Regions from separate parts of the Homo sapiens genome. Here all the other regions are linked to region 1. Evidence: promoter capture Hi-C in 16 types of primary human blood cells and fetal thymus (Javierre and others, 2016). All regions are on one chromosome and are shown on one strand. The core of a region is centred on a gene start or on the middle of the fragment in contact, and the rest is flanking DNA. Distances in the headings are between cores, read along the strand shown.

The links. Contacts are between HindIII fragments. The CHiCAGO score rates a contact against its expected background, and 5 or more counts as called.
Region 2: a contact is called between a fragment that was not itself captured here and the fragment with the promoter of ARAP2 in region 1, in 1 of 17 cell types (monocytes). The highest score is 5.0, in monocytes.
Region 3: a fragment that was not itself captured here is called in contact with the fragment with the promoter of ARAP2 in region 1 in 1 of 17 cell types (M1 macrophages); the score reaches 5.8 in M1 macrophages.
Region 4: a contact is called between a fragment that was not itself captured here and the fragment with the promoter of ARAP2 in region 1, in 2 of 17 cell types (M2 macrophages and M0 macrophages). The highest score is 10.2, in M2 macrophages.
Region 5: a fragment that was not itself captured here is called in contact with the fragment with the promoter of ARAP2 in region 1 in 2 of 17 cell types (M1 macrophages and M0 macrophages); the score reaches 8.3 in M1 macrophages.
Region 6: a contact is called between a fragment that was not itself captured here and the fragment with the promoter of ARAP2 in region 1, in 1 of 17 cell types (M0 macrophages). The highest score is 6.0, in M0 macrophages.

What each region holds. Positions count from the first base shown.
Region 1 is chr4:36,242,064-36,246,849 of GRCh38, forward strand. ARAP2 (ArfGAP with RhoGAP domain, ankyrin repeat and PH domain 2) reads right to left here and starts at 2,451. Exons shown (of 33, transcript NM_015230.4): 1 at 2,116-2,451. LOC439933 (a long non-coding RNA gene) reads left to right here and starts at 2,053. Exons shown (of 5, transcript NR_122079.1): 1 at 2,053-2,148; 2 at 3,109-3,247. RefSeq lists a silencer at 2,247-2,826. The HindIII fragment of the contact is 5,605 bases long and covers 1,314-4,786 here.
Region 2 is chr4:37,447,733-37,452,518 of GRCh38, forward strand. NWD2 (NACHT and WD repeat domain containing 2) reads left to right here. Exons shown (of 7, transcript NM_001144990.2): 7 at 1-1,731. Among named protein-coding and RNA genes, the nearest start is that of PGCKA1, 3.8 kb to the right of the region's middle. The HindIII fragment of the contact is 2,993 bases long and covers 426-3,418 here.
Region 3 is chr4:37,424,095-37,428,880 of GRCh38, forward strand. All of the region lies in intron 3 of NWD2 (NACHT and WD repeat domain containing 2), which reads left to right. Among named protein-coding and RNA genes, the nearest start is that of PGCKA1, 27 kb to the right of the region's middle. The HindIII fragment of the contact is 2,230 bases long and covers 1,644-3,873 here.
Region 4 is chr4:37,396,416-37,401,201 of GRCh38, forward strand. The region is part of intron 3 of NWD2 (NACHT and WD repeat domain containing 2); the gene reads left to right. Among named protein-coding and RNA genes, the nearest start is that of PGCKA1, 55 kb to the right of the region's middle. The HindIII fragment of the contact is 3,453 bases long and covers 209-3,661 here.
Region 5 is chr4:37,377,584-37,382,369 of GRCh38, forward strand. All of the region lies in intron 3 of NWD2 (NACHT and WD repeat domain containing 2), which reads left to right. Among named protein-coding and RNA genes, the nearest start is that of PGCKA1, 74 kb to the right of the region's middle. The HindIII fragment of the contact is 3,670 bases long and covers 755-4,424 here.
Region 6 is chr4:37,356,105-37,360,890 of GRCh38, forward strand. NWD2 (NACHT and WD repeat domain containing 2) reads left to right here. Exons shown (of 7, transcript NM_001144990.2): 3 at 262-378. Among named protein-coding and RNA genes, the nearest start is that of PGCKA1, 95 kb to the right of the region's middle. The HindIII fragment of the contact is 3,035 bases long and covers 545-3,579 here.

The sequences.
Region 1 (4,786 bases), core at 1,201-3,700:
ACTACCATTATATATTTAATCTGGCCAATACTTACAAGTAATAACTAAAATGATAAATTACAAGGTCCAGAACTTTGCAGAAAAGATTAAGACAGCGTCTCATAGCCTCTAATCTCACATCCACCATATGTGGTCAAAGCTAAGACATATTTCCCAGATTATTAAGAAGTTCTCTACCTAATTAATATTTCACCAAGAATTCCCAAAACTCTTACAATGTAGCATGTGCAAAGATTGTATCCAAGAAATGTATCAATAAATAAATGAGGACAGGTGGAAATGTATGCTAAAAGAAAACTATTAAAGCAATGACTATTATTTATACTTAGCATTTTTATAGTCACTTTCACCAAACTTTCTCACAGTTGCAGGGAGGTGGGTTAGAAAGTAACAAAACGAAACAACAACAACAACAAAAAACTTCTCATATATCATGAAGTCTATAACCCAGAATTCTACGTAGACTTTAAAACTTCATAGTTTCAATGCGTTAAAGTTCTTAAGAAAACTGTAATTCATTATAATCTGAGTTCTATACTTCTCCACAGTATCCAAGAATAGTTGGATCTGATATTATTGCATATCCATGAGCCTTACACTGCAAGGAGCTTGCAGTGATATTAGAAAAACAAGAATTTGTTTTTAAACGTACCATCAGCTTCTCCTTTTACAGACAAGCCACATAAAATCTGACAGGTTTACAGACGAAGGAAAAAATACAAACACAAGCACACACCCATATAAATACGTTTTAACAAGCTCTCTCACTTACCCTCTAGGTACATTTTAATTCAAATAAATCTTTGAGTACTGACAAATCTATATAAAACCCTCTTCGTGTTAGGAACCACCTTAAATGTGTATGTGTTAAATATGTTTAGAAAGAAGCCAGGAAGATATTTGCACTTAACCCTAGCCTAGTTCCATGACCCACTTTTTTTTCTTCTTTAAACGTTGTTGGACAAAAAATGTCATGAGTATTTTCTCTCAATATTTCTCCTGTAAGTGTATGGAAGTCATAAATAAGAGTTAAAAAAAAAAGAGTTTAAAGGTATTTCTCTTTTTTTCCTTAAAAAAAGTTAGCTTGCTTTTTATCTTCCAATTACTTACGGGCAAAGTTCCATGGGCCTGTGGGGGTGTAGAGTGCTTAAGTGCAGATAAATCAATACTGAGCTTGTAAGTACAATACTATTATGAGTAATAACAATGACATCCTATTAAATGTACTTTTAAAAATAGCTTATTTTCAATACACTTCTTGATTTTTTTTAAACCGAAGGCTGTATTCTACTGAACAGCCTACTTCAAGGACAAGCTTGCAAAAAAAAAAAAAAAAAAAAAAAGAATTTGCTATCAGGATACCTACTTACAACACCCTAAGATGTCATTATTCCACACAAATTAGCTTATTTTCTTGTGTTTTCCTCTAATTATCAAAGGCTATATAATCCACGAACCCTTTCCCCAAATCAAAATAACTCCAGATCACCTCAAGGTAGGAGGTGTTTAAGAAAACAAGCCAGAATTAGATAAAGTAAAACTTACTTTATTAAATAGGATGGACACCACTTCTCCCAAGAGAACTGTCTCCAAAAGTAAACAAGAAAGATCAATCTGGTAAACTCACATCATACAGGTTCCCGTGTAAGGTATCGGGTTCAGGCAGGTGGAAGCCAAATGATCGTAATTAAAGTTAATTAACAGGCCAGTCGTCTTAACGTGGTTAACAAGCAGGGTGCGGGGCAGCACAGACACCCGGGCAAATTCATGATCTCTACCGAGTAAATAACTTGGTGCCTGAAACTCACTACAGCTTCTTCTTATTTAAAGGTAGGGGAGAGGAATGGAGGGAGTGTCCAGCTGTCTATCCGGATCCTCACCCTCCCGGGTCAAATCCCAGAAGTGGAGTTCTTGGATCACTTACCGGCTTCTGGTTTCCTTTCAGACGCCCACACGCGGGAGCGAAATCCAAGGGGCGGACACCAGAGCCGAGCACTTTGCGCTGAGGAAATTTACCCGGTGAAGTGTCGAAAAGCCCCAGCCCCTCCAGACAGGGTCCTCCCACCCCCGCGTGGGCCATCCCGGCCCAGCCTTCCCGAGGCCCCGGGTACTCGCCTTGCGCTCGGGTCGCGGAGTTCGAAAAGCGAGGTGAGGCGGCGCTGGGAAGCTCAGCGCCGGCGTCTCTCCCAGCCTTGGGCGCTCGGTCCTCGCCCCTCTGCCGGAGGCGCCAGGCCTCCTCTTTCCCGGTCCCCGCCGGCTGTCCGCAGTCGCCTCTGCTGCCTGGCGGCGGCCGCGCGGGCGGCGCTGTTAGTGGGGCCGGCGTGTCGCGGCCGCCGCACCTGGAGGCGGGGAGCGCGGGCCGCGGACCCGCGCTCAGCTCCGGAAACGCCGAGCCCGGCGCCCGCGCCTTGCTCAGGTGCTCCCGCGCCTCGCCTCGGCCGCCGCTTCCTCTCCGCCCGCGGGGGCGGGGAGCAGGCGCCCCGCGCGGGGGAAGCCGGAGCTCAACGGCGGGGGCGGCCCAGCCGGCCTCCCTGGTTCCGCAGCATAGTTGGGTGACTGACTCAGACCGCCGCGACTTGGCCGCGCCTGGCACCCTCGCCACCTGGCGCACCTCGGCCCGGAGGCGTCAGACCCCGCTGGGGAAGCTGCGGGGGCGCGCCCTGGAGCCCAGAGCGACAGGGGCATTACCCACCTTCCCGGGACGGAGATGCCCAGGACCTTGTGTTGGCTCCTCCTGGCCAGTGGGTTTGTCTGTGCGCACTCATGGGGGGTTGAATGTCAAATGGGCGGAACCTCGCCACGACTGATTATTAGTATTACTCTTCCAAGTACTTAAAGTGTTAGCTCAGCGTTTCCCAAACTGAAGACTCATCTAGGGCACTATTTTCCCCAGGCTGCTTCTATGTAAATTTGCTCCTTCTTGCACCTGTGGCGGTTAGATCCCAGAGGGGCATTTCCCCTTTGAGTTGGACTCTGACAAAGGAGGCAGCGAAGGAAAATAGGGGATCCCAAAGAACCCTTGTGGACCTCCAAATATCTAAGCGTCCGTAAAATCCAGTTATTTGCAAGTGAGTTCACAGACCAACTACTTTTTTTTTTTTTTTTTAGACAGGGTCTCACTTTGTCACCCAGGCTGGAGTGTAGTGAGGCAATCTCAGCTCATTGCGCCTCCGCCTCTGGGTCCAAGCTATCCTCCCACGTCAGCCTCCCAGGTAGCTGGGATTACAGGCGCGCACCATCAGCCAAGGTAATTTTTTTTGTATTTTTGGTATAGACGGAGTTTCGCCTTGTTGCCCAGGCTGGTCTCAAACTCCTGACCTCAAGTGATCCACCTGCCTCGGCCTCCCAAAGTGCTGGGATTACAGGCGTGAGACACTGCCCCCTACCAGCTTTTTTTTTTTTTTTTATAAACATCTCCCACAGACTACCTGAAATTCTCTTCATTAAAAGGTGAAATGTATTTATCTTTCCCCTGTTCCTGTTGATGGAAGTGAAGCAATTAAGGAAAGCGCAGACCTTATGAAAATGAGATAATTGGTGAAGTGCGGAAAGAGAGAGGCTTCCCACAAGCCTGGGCCCTTAGGATTCTTCAGTCATCACCTTCACCCACACTAACTACCTGCCCAAAGCACCGTCTTTCCCTGGGGAGACTCTGAAGCAGCTCTGTCTTACTAGAGACACCAAATATCCAGTTCCTTTTGAACTTAATACCTCATAGCCGACCTCATTTCCACCAGGAAAGTTTTATTGACATTTTCCAAACCACGGGAACTTTTTCTCTGGATTCCTATAGCATTTATAGGAGGAATTTTATTTATGTGGCTCTTTTCTGGCTTCATTCTCTGTGTGTGTGTGTTTCTTTTGTTCTTTTTCCCTTTTCCCTCTCCAAATTCTCACATACTTCTCTCTTTTTTTTTATCTCTCTCTTTTTTGTTTTTGTTTTTGTTTTCGACTGAGCCCCGCTGTATCGCCCAGGCTGGAGCGTGGAGAGCAGTGGCGCGATCTCAGCTCACTGCAGCCTCCGCCTCCTGGGTTCAAGCCATTCTCCCGCCTCAGCCTCCTGAGTAGCTGGGATTACAGGCATGCACCACCACGCCTAGCTAATTTTCGTGTTTTTAGTAGAGGCAGGGTTTCACCATGTTGGCCAGGGTGGTCTGAAACTCATGGCCTCAAGTGATTCGCCTGCGTTGGCCTCCAGAAGTGCTGAGATTACAGGCGTGAGCCACCATGCCTGGCTCTATTTTTATCATTGTAAGCCATCTTCGGTCCTTCTCTAAACAAGGTGGGTTATAAATAAAAATTATTAGATCAGTTATCTTATGTGTGGGAGGTTCAATCATTGCTTTGTCCTCAAGTTACTTCGCTTGGTAGATTTTATAAACTAATTGAGAAATTGTCTCTCTCCCTCTTCGCAAAAATATCTTAGTTCTTTGATTATTATTCAGTCATTTATTCTTTAAAAATTATTAATCACTGTTTGGCATTTTGAAAATACAGTGTTTAGCAAATACAATGCAATCTCTGGATTTATGTTTTCTGAGGGGAAATAAAGGTAAATGCTACAAGGTACAACAATGACTTCATAATAGCCCTGGGAAATAAAGAAGAACAATGCTCACTTATTGAATGTATACATTAGTTATAAGATGTATTCTGGTTTAATGAATCTTAATATATGGAGGAAAATAAAAATGTCTGAGGAAATACGGCAAAAGCTATCTTTTATTAATTGATCGATAGTCACCAGACTCTAGTCAAATACCTAACATATATGCTGTGTATACAC
Region 2 (4,786 bases), core at 672-3,171, 1.2 Mb after region 1:
AAAATACCCAAGTGTATTCCCAGTTTCCCGAGAGATATGACCTGAAACATGAGACTGTGGACTGGACTGGGACAAGAACTAACTACCACTATCATAGGGCTACTGAACATGGAGAGTCAGTCTTTATTAAAAGACAGTTGCAACAATTGCATGCGAGGGTTTCTGTATAACAGAATATATGATTTTTAAACTATTTCCTGGGTTGCAAAAGAACACATTTAGTAAGAAACAACAATCTTTTCGCATCTTTTTGAAATGCATATTTGTGCTGGGTGTAAAGAAGATTACAGGAAGGGCATTACAAATCTGGTCAAAACACCTGTCCATTTCCATCATTGTACTAACAGAAGTCTGTACTATTTGGTCAGTTTGTATGGAAGCATAAATATTCCCTAAATTCCTGCAGTTAGTCTTCATAGAAAGCAAGCTTTCTCAACATGCCATCTCTGAGATACTGATGACGTTTGCCTTACTCACATTCCTTCTCTTTCCTGTGTAAAATGCAGATAGATGACCAAATACTCTGGGATAAACTGAATATGCCTGTCTTTGTGCTAAAATATTCCATAAATCTTAAGGGTGTCCAAAAGTTCTTTATTGTCCTTGTTTGTAATCACTTTCTTACTTCTACACACCATCTGTATGCTTCTTTATCTGTTACTCTTCCTGATTGAGGACTCTTCTGAGCCTTTTATAGTCCTATCCATTTCAAAGCAGAAGCTGTGGAATGGTATTAAATATTTTTTAAAATTAATTCACCTGTTTAAAAGAAAACATTGCATCTCAAAAGGTGAAGATGATTGTTCTTTCTTCCATATCCTCCTTACGGCATGTCCTTGGATAACTTTTCAAAAGGTATCCACACTTTTGGTTGAGTTTAGTTTTCTTAGAAAGTAGAGAAGTAACACTTTACTAGAATAATGAACAAGGAATTGATTTGCTCTAGGCCCAGCTCTGCCATAAACTCATTGTGTATTCCTAGACAGGTCTTTAACTTCATCAGTGTGTTGTTTTTGTGAAGTGCAAAATAAAGATAGTGATAGTTTCTGCTGTAGCCCTCATAGGGACATTGGGAAGCAGTATAAGAAAAACTTCAGCAACATCATGATTATTGATGCTAATAGGAAAAATAAATTCATGTAACCCATAGAGAATCCAGGTCAATTGTATTTCCTCTTGGAAAGCAGTTTAACATGTAAGCGTTCAAAGATGTGATTCAGATAAAAATACCCAGGTCCATAGTGAAAGATGTTTTTCAGTATGTTACTTATGGTTTAGCTACTAGCCAGGGAGGTGGTAGCCCAGAGAAGGCAAACCACATACAGATCACCTGGAGTTGATTATATGAGTCTATGCTTTTGAGCTCTTTAGGCAACACATTCTCATTCCTGTCATTATCAGTTGAACCTCCATGCCACACATTTCTAAGAATTAAATGCCTAGATGGATTAAATGTAGTATGTGAATGTTCTATGTAAAAGCCAATAGAGTATACAAGTGACTTGAATGATTTTTCCTAACTTGTTTGCAACTGATAGCTCATATTGAATGTTTTTATGTAAACTTTGTATCGTTGGGAAGAATTACCCAATCAGAGATTTATATTTTCATAAATGTTACATTTAGTTAAATTTTGTTACAGAGTTGTTACACTAGAAAATTATTTCAGTCTTCAAACAATATACAGTCTTGTGTATGTATTATTTGTATGAATAAAAGATAAACTACTTAGATTGGCGTGCTGTTTTTCTCCCCCATTTTTGGCAGATGTGATTAGAGACCTTCAGTAATAATAATAACTGTTCATGCTTACTGCTTATGTTGCACCAGGCACTGTACTTGGAGCTTTGCATGTACTAAGCCATTTAAACTTCACAACAGCCCTGTGAAGTAGGTACTGTTAGCATTCCAAATGTATAGGTAAAGAAACCTAGAAACGGGTCCAGGGAGAATAGCTGAACAAGATTTCAGTGCACTCTCAGTGTCTTTTTCCTTAACTTTCTCAAAGTACATCAAAACAGAGCATTTAGTATCTAGTAGGCACTTAGAGATCAATAATGACCTGCAAGGTGTTTTCTAACTTGCAGGTGGGAGACTGGGCTAGCTCTGAAGATCACTGAAATTTGCTGCAAACTCTCACGTTTTTCAGGTATACAGAAATAGTTGATGAATTCATTAATAGAAGGATGGGGAGGAAGGAGAAGAAGGGTGATGACTGAGGAGTTGTCTCTCTCATAAATTCCCTTTGCGCGAACGAGCAGGACCAAGGGGAGCCTTCCCACATGCCCTTTCTTCCATCTCTTGCCTCTTGGATCTGAGAATCCACACACGCACCAAAAAATATTTTTAAAAAACAGAAACAGAGGAGTATTGGTGAGCTTAAGTGATGATACATAGGAAATAATCTGAAAGCTAGTATCTAGTTGTCATGAAATAATTGTTCTCAGAGAAACTTTAATGTGTTACGAAAATAAATTATTCTGGTTTATTGCCTGCATCACATGGCTGAGACTAACGTGTTCAAAATTTACCACCACTGAAAACAATTCCATTACTTACAAAGGGTAATATCTTTAGGTTGAAAAGGCTAAACCCCTCTCCTTTTAGTTCTCAAAGAAAATGTAGAGAAGTTAATAAATATTTGCAAAAAAGCATTTCAAATAAATAGAGTTTGTTTAAATATCTTCTTTCCTAGAGCCAAGAACACAACAGTCAACACTGTATGCTTGCTATGCCCAAGGCATTATGCTAGATCCTGGAATGATTTGAAAAGTCACGCATGACTCCTGCCATCCAGAACCCTACAGTCTAGAAGAGACACAGCTAAACCAGATGAGACTGATTTCAAAGTTAGTAAGAGTGAGAGCCAGGTGCTGAGGATACACTACAGAGGAGCAATTAACACTACCTGAATATCGAAAAGGTTGACCCAGAGGAGATAGAGCTGAGGCTAGAAGAATAATTAGGACTTAGCTGTCAATGTCAGAGAGACATTTCAGGTAAAGGAAGCTGCATGAGCAAAAATGGGCATTGAAGCATATTTCAGGCGACTTCAAATGCTGTTGGGATTTTAGACTTTATTCAGTAGTCAATAGTGTCACTGAAAGCCAGGGGCCCAGCCTAGGTCCTGTTGCTCACTACACAGAAAGCCAATCACTAAGGCAATGAGTATTGTCAGGGAAGAAGGCTTTATTATGGGTGATATCAGCCAGAGACAGGAGACAAGACTCAAATCTGAATCTCCCCTGGCTAAAGTTGGGGTTTATATGGGGGGAGAAAACAGGCAGGGCAAGGAAGAGGAGTTGCTCAATAGGCAGCAGGTGTCTAGCATCTCACTGTAACCTCCTATAGGAAAACAGGAATTAGGGAGGGTTAAGGAAGAGGAATTGGTCAACAGGCAGCAGGTGTAAGTTTCTCAAGCTTCAGTGCTATGGGCATTTGGCTTGTTGGAAAATTGCGCTGGTTTCAACAGGGAGCTGGGAAAAAAAGTTTTGGGGAAGGGCAGTTACTTTGTCAGATGGCTTTCAGATGGAAAAGATCAGAAGCTGGGAGACCAGTAAAGACCATGGCCATGATCTCAGTTAGAAAGTGTTAGAACCTGATCTTAGAACCTGCTTAGAGTAGGGGCAATTCAAGATTTATTTCAGGGCTTAATGGATAGAGGTGTTTGATGAAGGGGAGGGAAAACTCAAATAATTCCAGTTCCAATTGGAATTGAGTAGATAGAATTACAAATGTAAAGTGAACAGGGGATGAAAGTGGGGGAAAATCACAAAACAAACTTGGACCTAGAGAGTTTAAAAGTAAGACATCCATCTAGCCCATTAGAAATAGTCTATCTATCCCATGGAGAAAACTCAAATAAAAACCCACTCAGTTCTTTCTTTCTCAGTAAGGAGATTGCAATGGATTGCAAGGAGCCCTTACTGCAATGCCTAATATGGTGTGGGGAGTTTTTTGGGCTATAACATAAACGGATACCATAATGTTTTTAATGTTGTTTGTTTTTTAGAACTCTTTCACAAATTTGGAACCATGTTGATAAATCCACTCAAAAAAATTAGCTTTCCTATCTTTCATGACTCATTGGCTGGGAACAATTTACATGTCAGTGAAAACATGGGCACACCTAAAAAATGAAGTGAATCATGGTGTTTTCACCCTGGTGTGCATCAAGAAACCATAGGTTTTTCTTCCATATGTTTTACAAGGGCCCCTCAGATCTCAATTTGGCATTCCAAGAGATCTGCAAGAAGTACAGATTACACGTTGTATGGACACATGGAGGGTTCAGTTTCAGTGTATCAACATGACAGATTACATAAAACTGGTAATCTAGGGATACAAATAAAAGCAGCACCTCTAGCTTTATAGAATGCCAGCCCTTACTATTTAATAGATGAGGGGAACTTCGCCAGCTACCTGTGCATATTCAGAGCAACGGTTCGCAAACTGGAGTAGGTACCACTTGCTAAAACACAGATTTCTTCACCCTCCCTCCCCAACTATTTCTGAATCAATACGTCTGGGGTGGGTCCCAAGAATTTGCATTTTTACTACATTCTCTCAGATTATGCCGATGCTATTAGTCTAGGAACTGCACTTTAAAATCTAAGGCAGGCTGGGGCGCGCGGTGGCTCAGCTTGCAATCCCAGCACTTTGGGAGGCCGAGGCGAGCGGATTGCTTAACCTCAGGAGTTCAAGACCAGCCTGGGCAAGTTTAGGAGAGCCCACCCCCACCCTAGTCTCCACAAAAATAATAATAATAATAGTAATAATAATAATA
Region 3 (4,786 bases), core at 1,509-4,008, 1.2 Mb after region 1:
CCCAAAAGAATAAATCAGGTAGAAAGAATACCAACACCCAAGGCTATAACATTGAACATGCCATAGTCCTTGTGAACAGTGCCCCATGGAGTTCTGCAGTACACAGGGTGCACATTCATACATGGTAGCCCTGCCAAGGGTACTGCCTACAAGAGCTATCACAATCAAATGAGCTACTCTAAGATACTCTCAGAAGAGGAAGTAGCACAATAACTTGATGAAGTAGAAAGAATGGGGTTATTAAATTTAAAGCCCCATATTCAGTTGCTGGTACTACCATGTCTTCTGGGAAACATGGCCTTGGGCAAGCCTGCTGAGGTCTGGGAGCCTTAGTGTCTCTCCCTACTTCACAGATTCTTGAGTGTCAAATGAATCATATATGAAGGAAAATTATGCATAAAATCATAGAATTTTATTTTAATAAATAGAAGCTTCTAGAAAGAGAAAAACAGACCCACCTGCCTTGCTTCAGTGATTAGGTTGGGAGAATAGGGCATTTAAAGAGTATATGCTTCAGCTTGTTACAGCACCAGTTTGTGGAGGAGGATGAGTGGAGATCTCTTTTCCTTTACAGCTCTCCCATGAGCAATGGCTCATAAACAGCAGTCCAGGGAGCAGCTGCCTCACGCCCAACAAAACATGGCATCCATAACCCCAAATACTCTATCCTCACCTGTCTTTCCTGACATCCCACCACAGAGTAAAGTCAAAGACACACTGAGCTCATCAACACCTTCAAGAATACTTATTCCTCTGTTCTGTTTGGTACAATACAAACTGCATGCCACAGACTCAGACCCCAAAGATTCTCAGTTGCAGCAGAGCTAACTGCACATGAAGAGCAGAGTGGAGAGAAATCAATATTTGCCCAATGGAAAAGAAAAAAAATCAATTGAGAGGAGGGAAAATGTTATCTCTAAGCCTTTGAAAGCAGTGGCTTAGATGTAGCTATATCAGCATATAAAGAAGGAAAATGAGATTTTAAAAAGTAGAGAGTCTTTTTACATTTAAGTTCCTAGTTCTAAAGAGCTCAATAGTTCAGAAAGTATTTTTTAATTGTGGTGAAATTCATACAACATAAAATTAACCATTTTAAAGTGAACAATTCAGTGACATTTACTACATTTACAGTGTTGTACAAACACCACCTCTATCCAGTTCCAAACCATTAGGAAGTGTTTATTATTCTAGAATTATACATGCAGAAACTACATAAAAGTCTGATAAATTTTTCTTAGATTTTTCAGCCTTTTGGACTTAACTCCCCAGATTATATTTGAGTGTTGTATTGTTGCTTTCTGCCTAGCTGATATTATGTGTCTTCAGTGTTTAAGAATAGGCCAATTTAAATGTGTTTCCACATTTGGTAAGGTGGATGGGAGAGAGGTGACTATAGATTTCTACAGACAGGCAAAATCCCATGTGTTTATTTTCACCTATGTATTGACAGAATGTTTAAACTATTCAATAAAAAGAAAATTCTTTCAGTCATATGCATTTCTTCTGTCTAGGGTCATAGGCAGATGGATCAACAGTGTAACTCATAAAAGTGGACTTCAATGCAAAATTCAATGTAGTCTCTCATCTCTGCACCAAGTGTTTCCCTACAAACTGGCAAAGTTGGTTTAACTAAGCAAAAAGCAAGCTTTTTGAGAATTGGGGTCAGAAGGATGTGGAAAATCTGTTTCTCTTTCAGTGGCTGGAATGAATACTCTATTGCCAGTGAACAGAGAAGGATGCCTTCTTGCTCATAGCTGCTGTGGCTGCCCTAAAGTCATTCATGGATACTCCCCATGGCTGCAGATCTAACGAATAGTCTAATTAGGAAACAAAACAGTGGAATCCATCTTGCTGCCTAGAGTTTAGCTGCTAGCCTCTTGAACTTGGTCTTCCATCTCCACCCCTGCTCTGGTCCATTGACCGTATGAGCTGGACTTTGCAACTGAGTTGGACTGCCCCCTTCTCTAAATTGACTCTGGTCCTGGTAAAATATTTGTGCATTGCCTTATTTGTAAATATTTGTGTGTTATCTTAGAACTGTAACTACACACACATACACAAACCAAAAATATCTTACTGAAAAATGTGGAAGCAAAATTCACTTTTGCTGTTTCTCAAATAGCAAGATAAGACTGAGGTAGAATCCTGTCTTAGACTCCTAAAAATTAACTGATTCATGATTTATGAGCATTCCACCTAAAGGAAGAATCAATAGAGAGAAGGAAAAGAGTAAGGGAGAACAATCCAATAAGTAACTTTAAGCCTGTAGCATATTATTACTTTTCTGAAGTTCTGTATTACCACTTTATATATAGTAGGCACTCAATATGTATTTGTTATTTGAATGGGATGAGGATATTTTTTCTTCTTTAGTAATCTTTAAGGAACATTCTGCCTTACTATATCGATTAAATAATTACAGTATTTGGTGCCAGGTGCTCAACTGAAAGAAATTATTATTTTTAAATAGCTCTTGATTTTTGAAATGATCCTCTGTGGTCCAGGCTCTGCCCCTTCAGTACTCGTTAACCATTCCTCATGAGACCATATATGCACTGCCCATAGCAATGGCTCTCAACTTCTGAATTCCTTTGGAACCTCATTTTAAAATGCAGTTTCCTTGGAATCTTCACTCACAATGTTCTTTCCATCTGAGAATGGACCTAGCAACCTACATTTTAGCAAGTACCCTGGGAGATCCAGGGAGCATATCATCCAGTAGATGATCTGTGGAGCATATTTTAGGAACCAATCCATAGATTTGACTGAATCCTAGTCTCTAAGACCAGCCTTGTTTAGAGCAGAAAGAAGTTGAAGAACGAACAGTACATTGCTGTGCAGTCATGATGGTGCTGTCCAGGGACAAGATCTTGTTTCTGTTCTCTCTCTTTTTTCCTCTTCCCTGCTTCATGCCCAAAACCCAGCTGGTCTTGCCTTGGATTGTAGTAGCTAGTCCATGATATTCCAAGACCTAATTGGCTACTAGATGGAGTGTTGTCAATTACTAAATCCCATATTTAATGTGCTGCCTGTCTACCTGGTCCTCCACCAATGACCAAACTCCATCTGTATACTTTCTTGAATTCTACCAATGCCTACTGCTTAGACATTCTCTTATTCCCTATTTTGCCCATGTGGGTCTGTTCGATGGCACATCCGAGCATTAAAACCTCATTCTTAGTGGCACACAACCCTGACAAAGAGTGCTGAGTGTCCAGAATTAGGCAAGATAATGGGATAATCACCAGGTTGGTTACCCTAAAAGAGATAATGTTCCTCTGTGTGTGTGATAAAATAAAAGGTCATGCCTATTTGCTTAGCAAAAGAGATTTTGGAAGAGGGAACCATTAGAAGTTGGGAAACAACTTGAGATACATCATTTGTGTTACATAAACCTGTTATCAAGATTGGCCCAATGTAGATTAAAATAGAAGTGCTCTTAATTGGGCTTCAGGCTAATACAGTGGGTTGGGATTAGCACACCCTCTGTAGAAGCCTCATATACCATGCTGAAATAATAGATACCAATAATGTGGCATCCCTCCATTCTAGCCCCTTCTAAAGGGACTTTTGCAGCCAAAAAGAACAGCTAGGTTAGATCTACTTCCTTTCTGGTCATTGAGGCCAGTACTGAGGAGGCTTGAGCTTTGAGGCAGTGAATTCAGTTACCCACAGTCACCTTCAGTAAACCAGTTATATGAGATGGCTTATGTGCTAAGGAGAGAGAGAGGACATGGTCCAACCAGGGATATGTTTATACAGTACCTGCTTAAGGAATATAGCTGAATTGAGTATTGCTCACAAAACTGGTACCTTCCCAAATTGTTACTCTACCTATTGAGAGCTGAACTATTTTATTTGACTACAGAAAGAAGCTTCAGAGAAGAGCAGAACAAACTTTAATGATTTCTTTCTCTGTCTTGGTTCATTCATTTAGTCAACAAATGTGTTTTAATCATTTCTATGAGCTAGGAATAAACAGCTCTGGCCTCTCCCTCAGAGAGCTTACCATTGTGTTGTAGAATTTAGGTCATGAATTTACGTGGACACAGATCTACCAAGGACTTCTCTTAATCTTTCAGCTGCCTGTATCAGATGAAAAGAACACTGTGAATACTGGATAGGCAATAGAAGTAGTCAGAAATGCCCCCTAGGGAAACCAGACCTGAAATTCACCTTCCAGTGGATAAACACAGCTTGATGTTTATGCTAAAATGCTAATCAACAAGAGGAAAGAAGAAAAATGCCCCCAGATTGAACAGAAAGTGTCTCATGGATACAATAAAGCAGACAAATTGCTTTGGTTACTGTAGGGTTATGTAAGAGGTCCTTTGTGTTCCCTCCTTATTTCTGCTAGATAAGATGAAGATTAATTGAAATACCAAGTGCTATATAAGCTAATAGTTTTATTAGCTTAAACCAGAAGTTCAGCCACCTGGAGGACTTGCTAAAACATAAATTGCTCAGCTCTGTAACCAGAGTTTAGTTTTTAGTAGCTCTGGGATGAGGCTTGAGAATTTACATGTTCCCAGGTGTTGCAGATGCTGCTGGTTCCAGGTCCACACTGTGAGAACTACTGGCGTAAGCAGACACTCTCAGCAACCTTGAAAGTGTTGCTCCACAAAGCAAATAGGCAGTACCACTAATTTTTTTTTAAGATGGAGTCTCACTATGTTGCCCAGGCTGGAGTGCAATGGCACGATCTTGGCTCACTGCAACTTCTGCCTTCCAGGTTAAAGCGATTCTCCTGCCTCAGCCTCCCCAGTACCTGGGATTACAGGCACAC
Region 4 (4,786 bases), core at 685-3,184, 1.2 Mb after region 1:
ATGCCCATCTCTGGAAGCACAGGCTACCTTATCCTGACTTCATGGGCAGCTCTCCATAGTTGGTTGCCGTCACTATTCTTTACAAGGGAAGCAGGAACCAGTCTCCATATTTTCAAATCCTCCAAAGCTCCTGGAGCCACATCTCAGGTTCTCTCAAGAAATCTCTAAGTGTGTTCCACCTGATGTGTTCACTGGAGAGGATTCTATAAGCTTCTTCAGCTCAACAGGTCTCAGTCAGGGAGTCAAATGTGATCTGCCCAGTCTCTACAGATGGAACTTCCCTCCCTTGATGAGAGAAGTGGAACTCAATCTGAGGAAAGTAAAAAGCAAAGCGAGGCTGGGCACGGTGGCTCACCCCTGTAATCCCAGCACTTTGGAAGGCCGAGGCGGGTGGATCAACTGAGGTCAGGAGTTCGAGACCAGCCTAGCCAACATGGTGAAACCCCATCTCTACTAAAAATACAAAAATTAGCCGGGTGTGGTGGTGGATGCCTGTAATCCCAGCTACTCGGGAGGCTGAAGTGGGAGAATTGCTTGAACCCAGGAGGCGGAGGTTGCAGTGAGCCAAGATCGTGCCATAGCACTCCAGCCTGGGTGACAAGAGTGAAACTCTGTTGCAAAAAAAAAAAGCGAAGCAACTCCTCTGGTTTCCTGGAATGAATCCCTCTCCAGTCTCCAGTCTTCAGTGAGATAGCCTGGGAGTTGGTGATAGGGATGAGCATCTCAGGAATAGGGTGGCCACTTTTTAGTCAGCCCAGCAGGTGTGTCTAGGAGCTTCTCATTACAGTGTTGCAATAGCCTATTGCCCTTCCTTCAGGTTTTAATGAAAATCCTGAGGTTTAGGGAAAGTCCTTGTGAGGGTTAGTTTTATGTGTCAAATTCACCGGGCCAGAGTACCCAGGTATTTGGTCAAATACCAGTCTGTATTTTTCTGTGAAAGTACTTTTTTAGATGAGATTAACATTTTAATCAGTAGACTTTGAGTAAAGCAGATTACCCTCCATCATGTGGATGGGCCTCATCCAATCAGTTGAAGAGGGCTTGAGAGATAAAGACTGAGGTCCCTCAGGAAGAAGGAATTCTGCCTGCATATTACCTTCAGGCTTGAGCTGCAACCCCAGCTCTCACCTTGGTTCTCCAGCCGCCAGCCTGCCCTGCAGAGTCGGACTTGCCAGCCCCCATAAAGTAGCTCGTTCTGGAGTGAAGGTGACTTCAGAGCCCTTATTACCAATTCCCCAGCGTTCTCAGGTTCATTGTAAGTACAGATCACTTTCATTAGACATTGTTGAAGGAAATTGCTTGACGAAGGAAATTTCTCGCCAGTACCCCTTGCCAAATGTTTGTCCCTAGCAACTTGTTACCCTGGGAACAGCCTCTCTCTCTCTCTCTCTCTCTCTTTCTCCCTCCCTCCTCTACTGCATCTTTCTGTTATTCTCTCTGTCCACTGCCTCTGGGTTCTGCATTGGCCATGCTATGGCTGTAGAAGGGTCTCATTGTGAGCACTCATTTGGTGGAAGCCTATCTTCCAAATCAACTCTAAATTGAAAACAGATCTGTCATTGTCCAGAAACATGCATTGAAGCAGCACCATTTAACTCCGCAACTGAGTGAGTTGCACAGTTTCATCACCACTACTTTGAATTAAAATAGATAACATTTACCAAATACTTACCATGGGCAGGCATTGTTCAAAGCACTCTATTCAAACATCAGTTAATCCTCACCAGATTCTTTGGAGGCTGGTACTTCAGTTAAGGCCATTTTACTAAGGCCCAAGGCCTAGAGGGGTTAAATAACTTATCCAGGGTCATAAACAAAATGTGGCACATATACACCATGGAATACTATGCAGCCATAAAAAAGAATGAGTTCATGTCCTTTTCACGGACATGGATGAAGCTGGAAACCATCATCCTCAGCAAAACAACACAGGAATAGAAAACCAAACACTGCATGTTCTCAGTCATAAGTGGGAGCTAAACAATGAGAGCACATGGACACAGGGAGGGGAACGTCACACACTGGGGCCTGTCGGAGGAGTGGGGAGAAAGGGGAGGGAGAGCATTAAGACAAATACCTAATGCATGCAGAGTTTAAAACCTACATGCCGGGTTCATAGGTGCAGCAAACCATGTCACCCAACCAATATGGCAGGGACAGGTTTCAAATCCCAGAAGTCTGCATTCAAAGCCTATGGTCTTTGCCACAACCTTTGGCCCCTAAAAAGGACATCCTGCTTTAGGGTCAGCCTTATCTTTATAAACAGACTCTTATGTGCTTTGCAAGTATTCGTGACTAAACAGGGTTATATTTTTTTAACTCACTATATATAATCATATCTATGCCAAAAAGAATTTAACAGAAACTTATATTAAAAGAAACAGTAAGTTTTTAGTTTTGCCTTTGCTTTTTTTTTCCACATTAAAAGAGACAAAAATGAATGCTGGCTAAGAAATAAGGAGCTAGGGAGAAACAACTATATCAGAAATGCCTTCAAGGGAAAACGCCAGATGTGAACAGAAGACAACATGGGATTTCTTGGCTGCCATGACAAAAAGTGGAACATAGTAAATTTCACATTTTTCATCATATGATAAAAACGAAGCATGACAGTTCATCAAGAAAGGTACACATTTTATAATACTGAATTTTGAAAGCAACATATTTAATGTTCTTTTTAAATGGCGGCTTGTGTCTTTAGTTGCACATTTAGAGACGTTGCAGATGAGGTCCACATATGAAGGTCAATGCTTATGGCTTTGTAATTTTCCCACCCAAGTCTCTCAAGAAATATCTAGATAAGGAGTTTGTCACACCAGCAGAGCCAATCACATTTTCATTTCATGGGTGGCTGAGGCAGTGGACCTCACTTTTTAAGCCTCTCTGGCCATCTTCTGGCTCCAAGAATATAGTAGGAACAGGCCTGGATTCAGCTTAACCCCAGTTTATATTATTTTTAATTCCAGACACCTTGGTTAAGATAAGTATTTTTAAAAGAATTTTTTGGCTTCTTTCCAATGCCCTTATTTTATTAGCTACATATCTTAAAGTTACTACTTTTGAATTAAAATGATGAAGGATTTCTCTTTGAGATCACTCAGTTGAAAAATCCCTCATTTAACCTGGTGGCCCAATATTTCCCTTATTCCTAGTTTTAAAATAGCTCTCTTTCCCACTTAAGACCTCTTTCTCCAATTCTGCCTATTGTTGATGTGAAGTGACCTCTGACTCAATCTTTTGGGGTGGTAACATGGTTTTCTTTTTTATCCTCTTTCTCCAGAACAAACTTAATTTCTGTAAGTTTCTTTAAGGCCTAAACTCTATGCTTTTACTTGGGATTGTAATTTTATGCTGCTTCTTCAGGTACAGTCCCATGCCAGTGGCATCTATATCACCTAGGAATTGCTTAGAAATGCAGATTGCCTGTCCTCATTCCAGAACTAAAGAATCAAAAATTCTAGGGAGAGGCCCGGTGTTTTAACAAGCTCACCAGATGCATGATTCTGATGCATGCTCAGGTTCGAGTATCACTAGACCAGGTTTTCCTTTCTGAAACTTTTAGACATTTCCTTTCTGTCTCACATATTTTCTAAATCAGTAAGTAGCAGGTAACTGGAGTTAAGATTGTAGACTCTGTATCCCCAACCATCTCAAAACTGGAAGCTTCAGCAACTTTGGAAATCAACAGAATCTAAACAGATACATATGGGTAAATTGCCCCTTTTAAAATCCCTTACCATTAGTTTGCCTTCCCACCCATTCTAATATTCCTAGTATTAGTCTCCAAGTGTGTTGCTATCTGTCCTATGTATCTTAAGTAATGAAGAAGCTCAGAGCTAACAGGTCAATTTCCCCAGCAATCCTTCCAGTGGGAAAATAAAGAGAAATTACCTTTGTGAGTTGTGTTTTAGGGCATCTGGCTCATTCAGCATGGATTTTTCCATTTGCCTGTGGCTGTTAACCAGCCTGCAGTGAAGAGGAATTGCCCATCTGTAGTCAGAAAATTGGAGTGGTGACATATATTTCCTCCCTTGAGTGACACAGAGAGTTCCCTCTCATCATCAATTCACTTAGAAGGACCATTTTCAATAGAAAAATGTACCTGATTCTTGCCCATGTTCAGAAAGCCAGCTAAGAATTCTCAAACATTTCATTTCAGTTCAGCTTTGTGACTAATTTCCCTATATGCCTGCTCTTGATGAGTAACTGACAAATAGCATTTTATGGAAGCTATGATGGAGTATTTTGCTTTTACTGTGACCATTAATGCATTACAAACAAAATGGAAAGTGTGTGGGTTTCATGTCAATCAATTTGCATTTCTTGAAATGAGAATTGGAAAAGCCAGATGGTCTTTCCTTAAAGAACAATAGTTATATTGTTTTGCTGTGGTTCTTACGTTATGCTTAAACGTCAACTGAAACAGACTTTACTTGATATCTTAATCCATGTGTGTTACAATAAAGGAATACCTTTCAACGCAAGACATGGCAGGGCCAAACAAACCATATCCAAACCATAGCACTTGGAAAGCAGGATTATTAAGCATTCTTCAGTGACCTGTGCTATTCATTGGAGTTGTATAGTCATTTTGTACAAGGCACAAACAGAACAAGTGATCATAACACTTGTGTTTAAAAAGCAGATATAGGTAATGTAAGTGTCAGTAAACTACTGATTAAATTAAGGGCCATGTCTCCTAGAACAGCTTGTAATGTCAATTTTGTATAGCCATTTTTCACTTATCCAGTCCCTAAACTTATCTGTGCTCTCTTTCCTCCTTGGC
Region 5 (4,786 bases), core at 1,340-3,839, 1.1 Mb after region 1:
ATTAGACAGGCGTGGTGGCACATGCCTGTAATCCTAGCTACTCAGGAGGCTGAGGCAGAATCGCTTGAACCCAGGAGGCGGAGGTTGCGGTGAGCCGAGATCACGCCGTTGCACTCCAGCCTGGGCAACAAGAGTGAAACTCCATCTCAAAAAAAAGAAAAGTTCAGGAGGAAAGACATCTTCAAAATAAAATAATTTAAAATAGTTAATAATTTAAAATAAGTTTGAATAACTTAAAAGTATATGTTTAATTTAAATGTATTAGAAGTTTAATAAGTTTAAATAACTTAAAATAACTTTAAAACATTTTTTAAATGTTTCACCACAAAAAAAATAGTATGTGAAGTGATGGATTTTTTTAATTAGCCTCATTTAATCATTCTACATTGTAAACATAGCAAAACAGTACGTTGTACCCTGTAATTGTATACAATTATTATTTTTCAATTAAAAATTAATCATTAAACATTTTAGGTTAGAACTTCTTATAATTAAAAAATGGATTTCTAAGCCTAACTTTGATTATGATTAAGAAAATATTCTATGGTTCTCTATGCCCTTCATCCACCTATATCCCACCCTCCCGAACTTATGTTCCTGTGTCTGCTCCACGTCCCTGCCAACAACCACTTCACAAAATATTAACTGGCTTTGATTTGGAAAACATTATTCTGCTCTCCTATATTGATGTCTGAATTGAAATAAATATGACAGTCATCTTTATGGACGAGTTTAAGTTCAATTTTATTATCTAAGCTTCCTCGAAGAGAAAATGAAAAACAGTCCCCCCAAAATCATAGTATTAGAAACTTTTGGTTAAGAAAGTGAACATTGTGACAGGGTGTCAGTTGTTGTCCATTTTGGATGGTGGACCACAATTCCAAGAACGGAAGGAAGTCCATTTTCCCATGTAACAATGGCAAATGCCAGCCAAATTCTAACCTAATTTTGCCAGGATCTTAGGACAATTCCCCAACTTGTTACACAATCACCATTCTGCTGGCACTTGTGTTTTGCCTTGTTTCCCTGAATGGTTTGTTTTTTATTTTTTTTCTTAATTTGAGTGACCTTTGAGCCAGAAGAACTTGTCATTTGGTGACTCTTGTGAAAGTGTTTATTTTTATACACTCCATGTGTCCTTCTAAATGTAATTTTGTAAATCATAAAAATAAAAAATTAGGCTTTTTCTGTAATGCTGGGCTCAACAACAGATTTCTTTAAAAATGGAGAAGTTTAAAGAATTAGGCTTTTTGCTGAAATTCACAAGGATTTATTTGTTGTTTTAAAGCTGCTTTGGGAACAAACATTTGTTTTGATAGTTTTACAAGTAGAAACTATAAAACTAATGGAATTGCTCGTATTCATTTGTGTTAAGGTTATAAAGCTACTTACAATTGCAGTTCACATTTTGTAACTCAACTTTCAAGCTAATTGTGGAAAGGAAATCTGAAACTTGCCAAATCCTTGATAATCTGGACTCCTCACTTACCCCACTCAACTCCCCCAAAAATCTTTCATTCTAGTGGTCTGGTAATTCAGTGGAAAACCACATGACAGGGTTCATAAATTTATCCAGTGGTTTTTATACCTAAGGATAACACTTTCTGGTCTGTTTTGCAGGCTTTTCACAGGAAGAATTGTGATGGTCAGAGCCAATGTAGTCGGTCAAATCTAAGACTAAGAATAAATGTAGCAAACACATCCAACATAATTCTGTTGGAAGGACTTAAGCCATTTAGTCCGTCCAACAGAATGATGAGGATAGTACTGTTGTCTGCACTTCACAGAACAAACAGAGACACAGAGAGGTTGAGTAACTTTCCCAGAGCCACACAGTAAGTGGGGAGCCGGAATTCAAACCCTAATAGCCTAGTTTCAGGGTACATTCCCTTTTGTGTCATGCTTTTGTATTTCAAAAAGCACATGACATATGTTTTATTATTTAATCCTCTAAATACCTCCAGGAGGTATTCAGATTTTATAATGCTTTTTGTTGGTGTGGGTTCACTGAGACACGGAATTGTGGAGCAGAACTAACCCAGACCGTACATGAGTAGATGATGAAGTAGTCCCAACCCGAGGCCTCCTGACTGCAAGCCTGTGGCTCTCAGGGAGGTTTTGTTTTTGTTTTGCCAAGGAACACTTTCATTAAATAAAAACTGCATCAAACTCTGTTACAAATGAAGGTGTAACTGTTCTTAGTAGGGGACAGATGGGCACTTGGACTTCTCTCCTACCTGTACCTATTTCCATCCCACCCGCAGAGGCCCTAAATGGCTCCATAGAATACAACTGGAAGCCCACTGCTTTACCCCGTGTTATCTTTCAGATATATATATATTACATATATTAGCACTGGAAAGAGCAGAAATTACTGGAAACAACCGAAAAGTAAAGGCAAGAAGCATTTGAACTTGGCTCCGCCACTTGTTCTATGTTCATCTCTAAAATAAGAATAAGAATTAATGCATTTCATTGATTGCTTCTAGTGAGTCAAGCACTAAGCATTTTCTCACGTAATCCTTACAGCAACCCTGTGAGTTGCAGGTATTGTTATACCAATTTACAGATGAAAAATAAACGTTCAGATTAACTTCTCCAGGGCTACTAGGCTAGAAAATTGTAGTTGGAATTCAAAACCACATCTGTTTGACGATAAAGTCCGGACTCTTAACCTACCTAGGATTGGGGAAATTACATGAGACACAGCTCCTAATGTGTGCTGCAGTAGACAGTCAATAAATGGCAGATGTTATTTTGGGGGAGACTGTTTAAGAGTACGGACTCTGAAATCAGACCATCAGTATTTACATATCTGTTCTATCATATAATGTGTGACCTTGGACAAATGTTTTTCTCCCTCTAGGCTTTAATTCCTTCATTTATAAAGTTTGAATAATATTAAAACTTACTATACAATTTTTATGAAGATCAAATAGGATATTGTGTTTATGTTGCTTAGCACAGGGTCTTACCCATAGTATGCCTTAAATAAATGCTAGCTATGGTTATTATTAGGAACTATATGCTAAGGAATCACAAGCCAAAAAAAAAGTGGATTTCATGAATAGTCTACATTATCTCATTTTGTTTCACCAAAACTTCTGTGAAGTAAGTACTACATTATTTTCATATTACAAATGCTATTTTGAGAGGTGTTTTTAATTTCTTAAGTACTCACAGCTAGCAAGTGATGAAGCTAGAATGTGAGCAGGCAGGTGGAATTCGGAGGCTTCATCCACATTCTGTATTGATTCTGACAAACTATTTAAGATAAACGTTCCCCCCAGTCTTGATGGAGCCCAAGAGTTAGGGACTTAGCCAATCAGGAAATGCTCTTCTTTCTCCTGCTTAAATTCAGAACCAGTTGAAAGGTGGTTGCAGGAATCAGGTAGATGGAGATTAAAATCTCACCTTTTTTATGATAAAGCTATTGAAGGAAATGACTTAGATCCTAATGTCGAGCAAAATAATCTTTCAAGAGACAGAATGAACCACCCACTGGTGATCCTAACACGTCAAGCCTCCCCCCAAGCCCTAGCCCCACCCCAAGAAGCCTGAAATGTGCCCTGTGGAGGATTTGAGCTGAATTCCAGCACAGCTAGCATGGATTTGAGCAGACAGAGCCCAGAGTGAGGTAGAGAGGGCCGAGTCACTCATATCCCACTTCCTCTTCCCACGTCACCATCAGTGACTCCTGCTCTCCTGGGTGGAGTGAGTGAAGGTGGAGAAGAGCCCCGGGTGTTAATCTAATGGAGCTCCTCCAAATAGAAACACCTGGAGTGGGATATCGAATCCCATTTAACATCCCCAGGTTTGTCTTCTCTCAGCGTCACTGGGATCAGCCACTGAGACTCTGGGTTATCCCTCTGTATGGCTGCCACCTGGAGTGCGAGGAGATTAACATCTGTCAGGGCAGGACTACCTCCAACTCCATGAGGCCGCTCCCTCAGAGCCCACTACTGCTGCTTTGGGCATCCTCCCTTGGCTGTGTTTATTTTATCCTCTGAAAGCTCCAAACAGGACAGAAATACACAATTATGAAATTAATACCAAAGCTACTCTGCATCTAAAGTCAATCTGTATTCTATTTCCCATCCCCATTTACCTGTAACCACATTTCCAACTTCAGAGGTTCTGTACCAAGCTGAAATGACAGCCCATCTGTTGCAGAAGTGAAATGAAAATACTATAAACAGTTCTATATTTGAATATAAATCTCATTACAAAGGGAGAAATTAAAGTTTAAAAATCAATGTTCCAAAGAATTCAACTATGAAGTAGTTAAGTCACATTTCAAAAGAATTGATGTTGAAGAGAAAATTCTCTTGCTTTTGTGGGATAACATTTTTTTAAATTTCAAAATTGATCTGAATATTTTATCTGTTCAGTCTAATTCAGAGACATTCGTGACACTGTGGGCAAGCTTGGACTGTCCTCTCCTGGATGCGTGTCACTGCTCCAGCATCTCACAAATAAAATTTTACATTTCTCAAGAGAGAAGAAAACACAGCAAACACCCATGAAATGTAGAAAACAAGTTAGCCCAAGGCCCTAAAGAAGTTAGTCCAGGCATACTTGTATTTCGCAAATCCACACTTTGTGTTGCCAAAAACCACAGCAGAGATTTCAGGGGTAGCAAGTGAAAGACAGAGATCAGGAAAGTCCCGGTTTCCACCTTGCCAGGATGTCAGTGGGTCTGCGCCTGCACACCAGTGAACCTAGATTATTTAGGTTCACTACACCTGCACTCCAGTGAACCTAGATTTATTTAAGAGAATGCTGC
Region 6 (4,786 bases), core at 812-3,311, 1.1 Mb after region 1:
TCCAAAACCTTCAACAGTTAGCATTTCATTTTCTCTGGGCCCATGTCAGCAGTATAATCAGAAACAAAAGAAGAAATTATAAGGTTCATTCCCAACCCATCATGGAATGAAAAATCTCTCTAAATGGATCTTAAAAATCACTTCCCCTCTGTAAGAGAAAACATGCTGCAAAGAGAAAAGTTAAAAGTCACATTAGCTTGACATTGTAAATAAAAACAAAGCCCACATGTAAACTAATGCTCTTCATCCATCTGTCCCCAGGTCATAGATCTGTACTGGGGAGTGGAAGAAGATGAGTGGGACAGCCCAGAGCTCCAGAAGACCCGCATGAAGCTGCTGGAGAATTGCTTGAAAACTTCTGCAGGTCCATGTTTTGTTGTGGGTATAAAAAAACTAATGCTTTATATTAACTTTTAGATGAATGTGAGAATTATTGCTGATTTGTGATTCATAAGGGGTTTTTTAAATGAGGGGGAAAAAGACTTTTTTATGTCTATTTAAACATTTTAAGCTGTCTCCTGGCTCTCAATGTATGAGAACAAAAAGCTTCAACTTTCCATAAGAAGTGCTGCCAATTAACGGTGAATAATTTGAACTGGTAATCAAAGGGATTGACTTGGGTTTGACAACAATTTCTACAACACCTTGTGATCAACAATAAGGATTACTCTTTCAGACCTACAATAATTATCCTAGGTTTTCTTATCTTATTGTATAATATATTCCATCATAGTGCTTCTAGTTCTTAACGCTAGAATTTCTGGCATTTTTTAACAAAATGGCTGAAACATTGTTAAAGTAAATCAAATATACTATGTCTCATCTGCCAGTAGCAAATGGTGCCCTGTGAAAATGTTTGTTTCTACAGTGATTTTCAGCTACATGTTCATTATAAGCTAAAGATCGACAGAGATATTCCAAGTGGAACATTATTATTAATTCATCGTTATTTTCTAAAGAATACTCACTCCTCTGTGTTAGCACGGTGGCAGTAAGATAAATAGGTCATTCTATGGCAGGTGGTTGTGCAAAAATCACTGCCTTAATTTAGCTTAAGAAAGACTTACCTTGAATTCAAACAGATCCTACCAATCGATAAGGGAAGTTGCCCCTTTGAACATAGGTTGCTCTAAGACTGACAGACGAGTGTTAAAATTACCAGTGAGTGCTATGAAAAAAAATCACACCGTACTGTTAAAAACTAGATTCAATATATCAGCAAAAGTGTTCTTAATATTTATTTGCATATCCGTCTATATTTGGCTCCGCATAGGATTAGGAAGACCTACAGAGATGATATCACAAATCTGACCAGCTGATGGTAAATTTCTTACCCAGGCTAGTAAAGTGTATAAAGGCTGTATCATATAGTATTTGTAGTATTCCATATATAGATAAGTTGATTACTCACTAACTGCCTGAGTGCTACCGTGTGCCAAGGGTTGCTCTTAGGTGCTGGGGGTGTGGTAGGTTGACCCATACGAAATTGTTATTTTGTGGGCCAGTTCCTTAGGATTCAACCTTAGAATTGAACTAAGAAGATAAAATTTTTTGCTTTCCCGGAGCTTACATTCTAATGTGGGTGGAAGGGGGAGAGGGCAGGCAAAACCCAAATAAGTAAGATAAACAGTAAGTCAGTTGGTGATAAGTGCTATGGAGAAAAATAGAGAAATGAAAGAAAAGAGAGAATACCAGCGAGGGGAGAGATTTGCTACTTAAGATAAAACAGTCAGAGGAGGCCTCACTGATAAGGTGACTCTGAAGGGGAGATGGAAAGAGGGGCAGGAAAGAACCAGGTGTGGATATTCCAAGTCAGGTATTCCAGGAAGAGGGGTTGGCATGTTCAGGAAACAGCAAGCAGGCCTCTGTGCCTAGAACAAGTATGAATAGGGAGGAGGGCATGGGATATGGGGAACGTATCATGGGGCCTTTTCATCTTTTATGATTAAGAGAATATTTTTATTTTTAAGACTAAGAAGACTATTGTTATGGCTCAGCATAATTGGGAACCATCGATTTTGGAAAGGTAATTTCAGTAAGACAATTCAATTCTGTAATCTTCAAGTTGACTTAAGGTTTTACCTCGAGTGACAGGAAAAACTGCAGAAGTGTTCTGAGCAGAGGAATGAAGTGATTTGACTTGTATTTTAAGCATGGCCTTGGCTGCTGGGTGAAGAATAGGGAACAGAGCAGGCAGACCTTTAGAGAGCTACTGCAATAAGCCAAATGAGAAAAATACGTGGTTTGGGGGGGTTGGGGGAACGAACACCGAAAAACAGTGTCCTGTGGCCTGAAAAGAATGCAAAAGAAGGCCTGAAAGTTGTGTTAAATATCTGAAGAGCAAGTAGCGGAAGAGATTCTTTTCCTTGGGTCATTGGAGGATAGAACTAGGAAGCAGATTTCAGCTTTGGGTGAAGAAGTTAAAGGATATATAGCTTCCTCTCAGGTTTTTGGATCCAGTATCCCTGGGTTCTGACCTGATATTTCATAGCTGTGTGGCACTGCAGGAGTTGCTCCACTATTCTAAGCCTCAGTTTTTTGTCTGTAAAATGGAAGTGATAATAACAGTTATCTACCTCATCGGGTCATTCTGAGAATCAAATGAAATTACAGGCAGTTTTATAGTATTTCACACATAGTAATCCATTAAAAAGTGTTCGTTGTTTCTTATTGTGTATTATTATCTATCACAGCTGCCTGAAGATGAAATCACCTGGCTCAAACTGTAATGATGCATCCCCAAAAAAGTTTTTATCAAAGTGAAGAACACAAACCACTGTGACAGGGGTGCTATAGAAGAGACTCAAATATTGGAAGACAGGTTAGGCCAGATTCCATTATGCTTAGAAAGCCAGATTTGGGAAGCATAACCCACTATGGGAGTGTCCTGGGAAACCTCAATTACTGTGATCTCCACAGCTTTACCGTAATCCAGCCTTGGAAATTCAGGAATGAGAGAGATGTTCTCCCCCTTTTATAACCCTGTTGAGTGCCATCCCTAAGCTAACTAAAATTAGACATGACTATGAATTCCAATAATTTGCTGGTAGGAGAATAAATAAAGACTTTGCAAGTTTATGCAGGTTATGAGAGCAAAGGTTAGCTGACAGAACAGCAGCAACATCTTTATTGAGCATAAACAAATCATTTATCCCTCCTTCTGCTCCCCTGTTACATGTTTAAACTCAGGGAAACCACGATAAAACCCTGCAGATAGAGCTAGGATTATTCACCCCAGCGATCCTAAATCACACAAGGCTTGTATCTCACAGCTTATAGAAAAAGAAAAAAAAAGTACTCCTCTTAGGGCCTTTCCTGTTGTAACTACGGTGACAACTGGCATGTGTGTGTTACTTTTAAGCTCCAGTTTCCTCGCCCAGTGCTCCCTTGTGGATATTTCTAGAAGTCATGATGACCCCTGTGGGATGCAGAGCTTAACATAATACTTCCCCTAATGCTGAAGTCTTTGGCAAGGAAATTCACCACTGCTGAATGAAAAAAAAAAAAGTTTTTATATCTTCAAAGGCTTCACAGTCTTTAGCCTTTATGTTAGGTCCAAATAAATTAAGGACCAGATGAAGCTTTCCTTTTAAACACCCAGGGAATTGAGTTCCAAAGGGAACTTTAGTCTTCAGTATAGTTCGTGCTTGGCCTTTTTCGACTTCATTTCCTATAAGTTGTCATTTAGATAATGGCCCAAGGTTCCACTGACATGCAAGCTGTGCTGTAATTCTGGACAGCTGTTTTACACACATGTTTTTGTCCATGAAGAGATGAAGGTGCTAGAGTGAGGGAGCCTGGACATGTGTCTGGTCCTGCTCTCAGAGGACTAGCTTGGGAAACATTGTAAAGCATACATCATCTTACTGAGAAGAACAACATTTGAATACATGTGTAGAGAGAGGCAAGTACAGTGGGAAGAGCCCAGAATTTTCATTTTACAATCAAGCGAGAGCCCTGGTTCTCAGGGAACAAGTCACTAACTTAATTGTACTTTAGTGATCACATCTATAAATATGGGAAAATAATAACAATAAACTAAAAGTAAATTTTGAATCAATTTCAAAGGATTGTTGTGGGGACCAAATGTGATAATATATGTATGAGTTCTTTGTAAACCCATAAAAGGCTAACAACCAGTAATTTTAGACCAAATAACTTAAAATGTAATTTATTTTCAAATAAGAATAAAAAGTTTTCATTTATATTAGGCATTTATGTGCTATTATAATTTTTCCCCTTAAAAATGCTGATAATCTAAATGTAAAAAGTATCAAGGCTTCATTCAGTCAAATGTTAAAGGATTTTAATTCATTCTTATGTGTATATTAATAAAATGTAATATTTGTAAAATGCATATGGTACATATATATTTTGTTTTTCTAGATATGAATTTGCTGACATTTACTGACTAAAAGCTTTACCTATCCCCAAGGAGGGATTCTGACCAAGGCAGCCCCTAGCAGGGAGACAAATCACAGCTGAGTAACAAAATCATCTTCATCACCTTTTAGGTGTAAAAAATTGCTGCAGGCTTTGCAAAGTGTGGAAAGGTCAACAAAATCTCCCCCACCTACTTGTCGCATTCCCTAGTCCATAGAAAATCCTTTTGTAGAGGGAGAGGAATACGGCCTTTTGGAGAGAGCAGAGGTCATATGATGCTAATTCTCTCATTATCTCATCCCCATCCTTCTCCATGCTGCATATTTATAGGGAAGAGGGGGTTTTCTTCTTGTCATCCCTCCAAATGTGGAGTACCCAAAAGAATTGCTTACAGAGTTTGAGC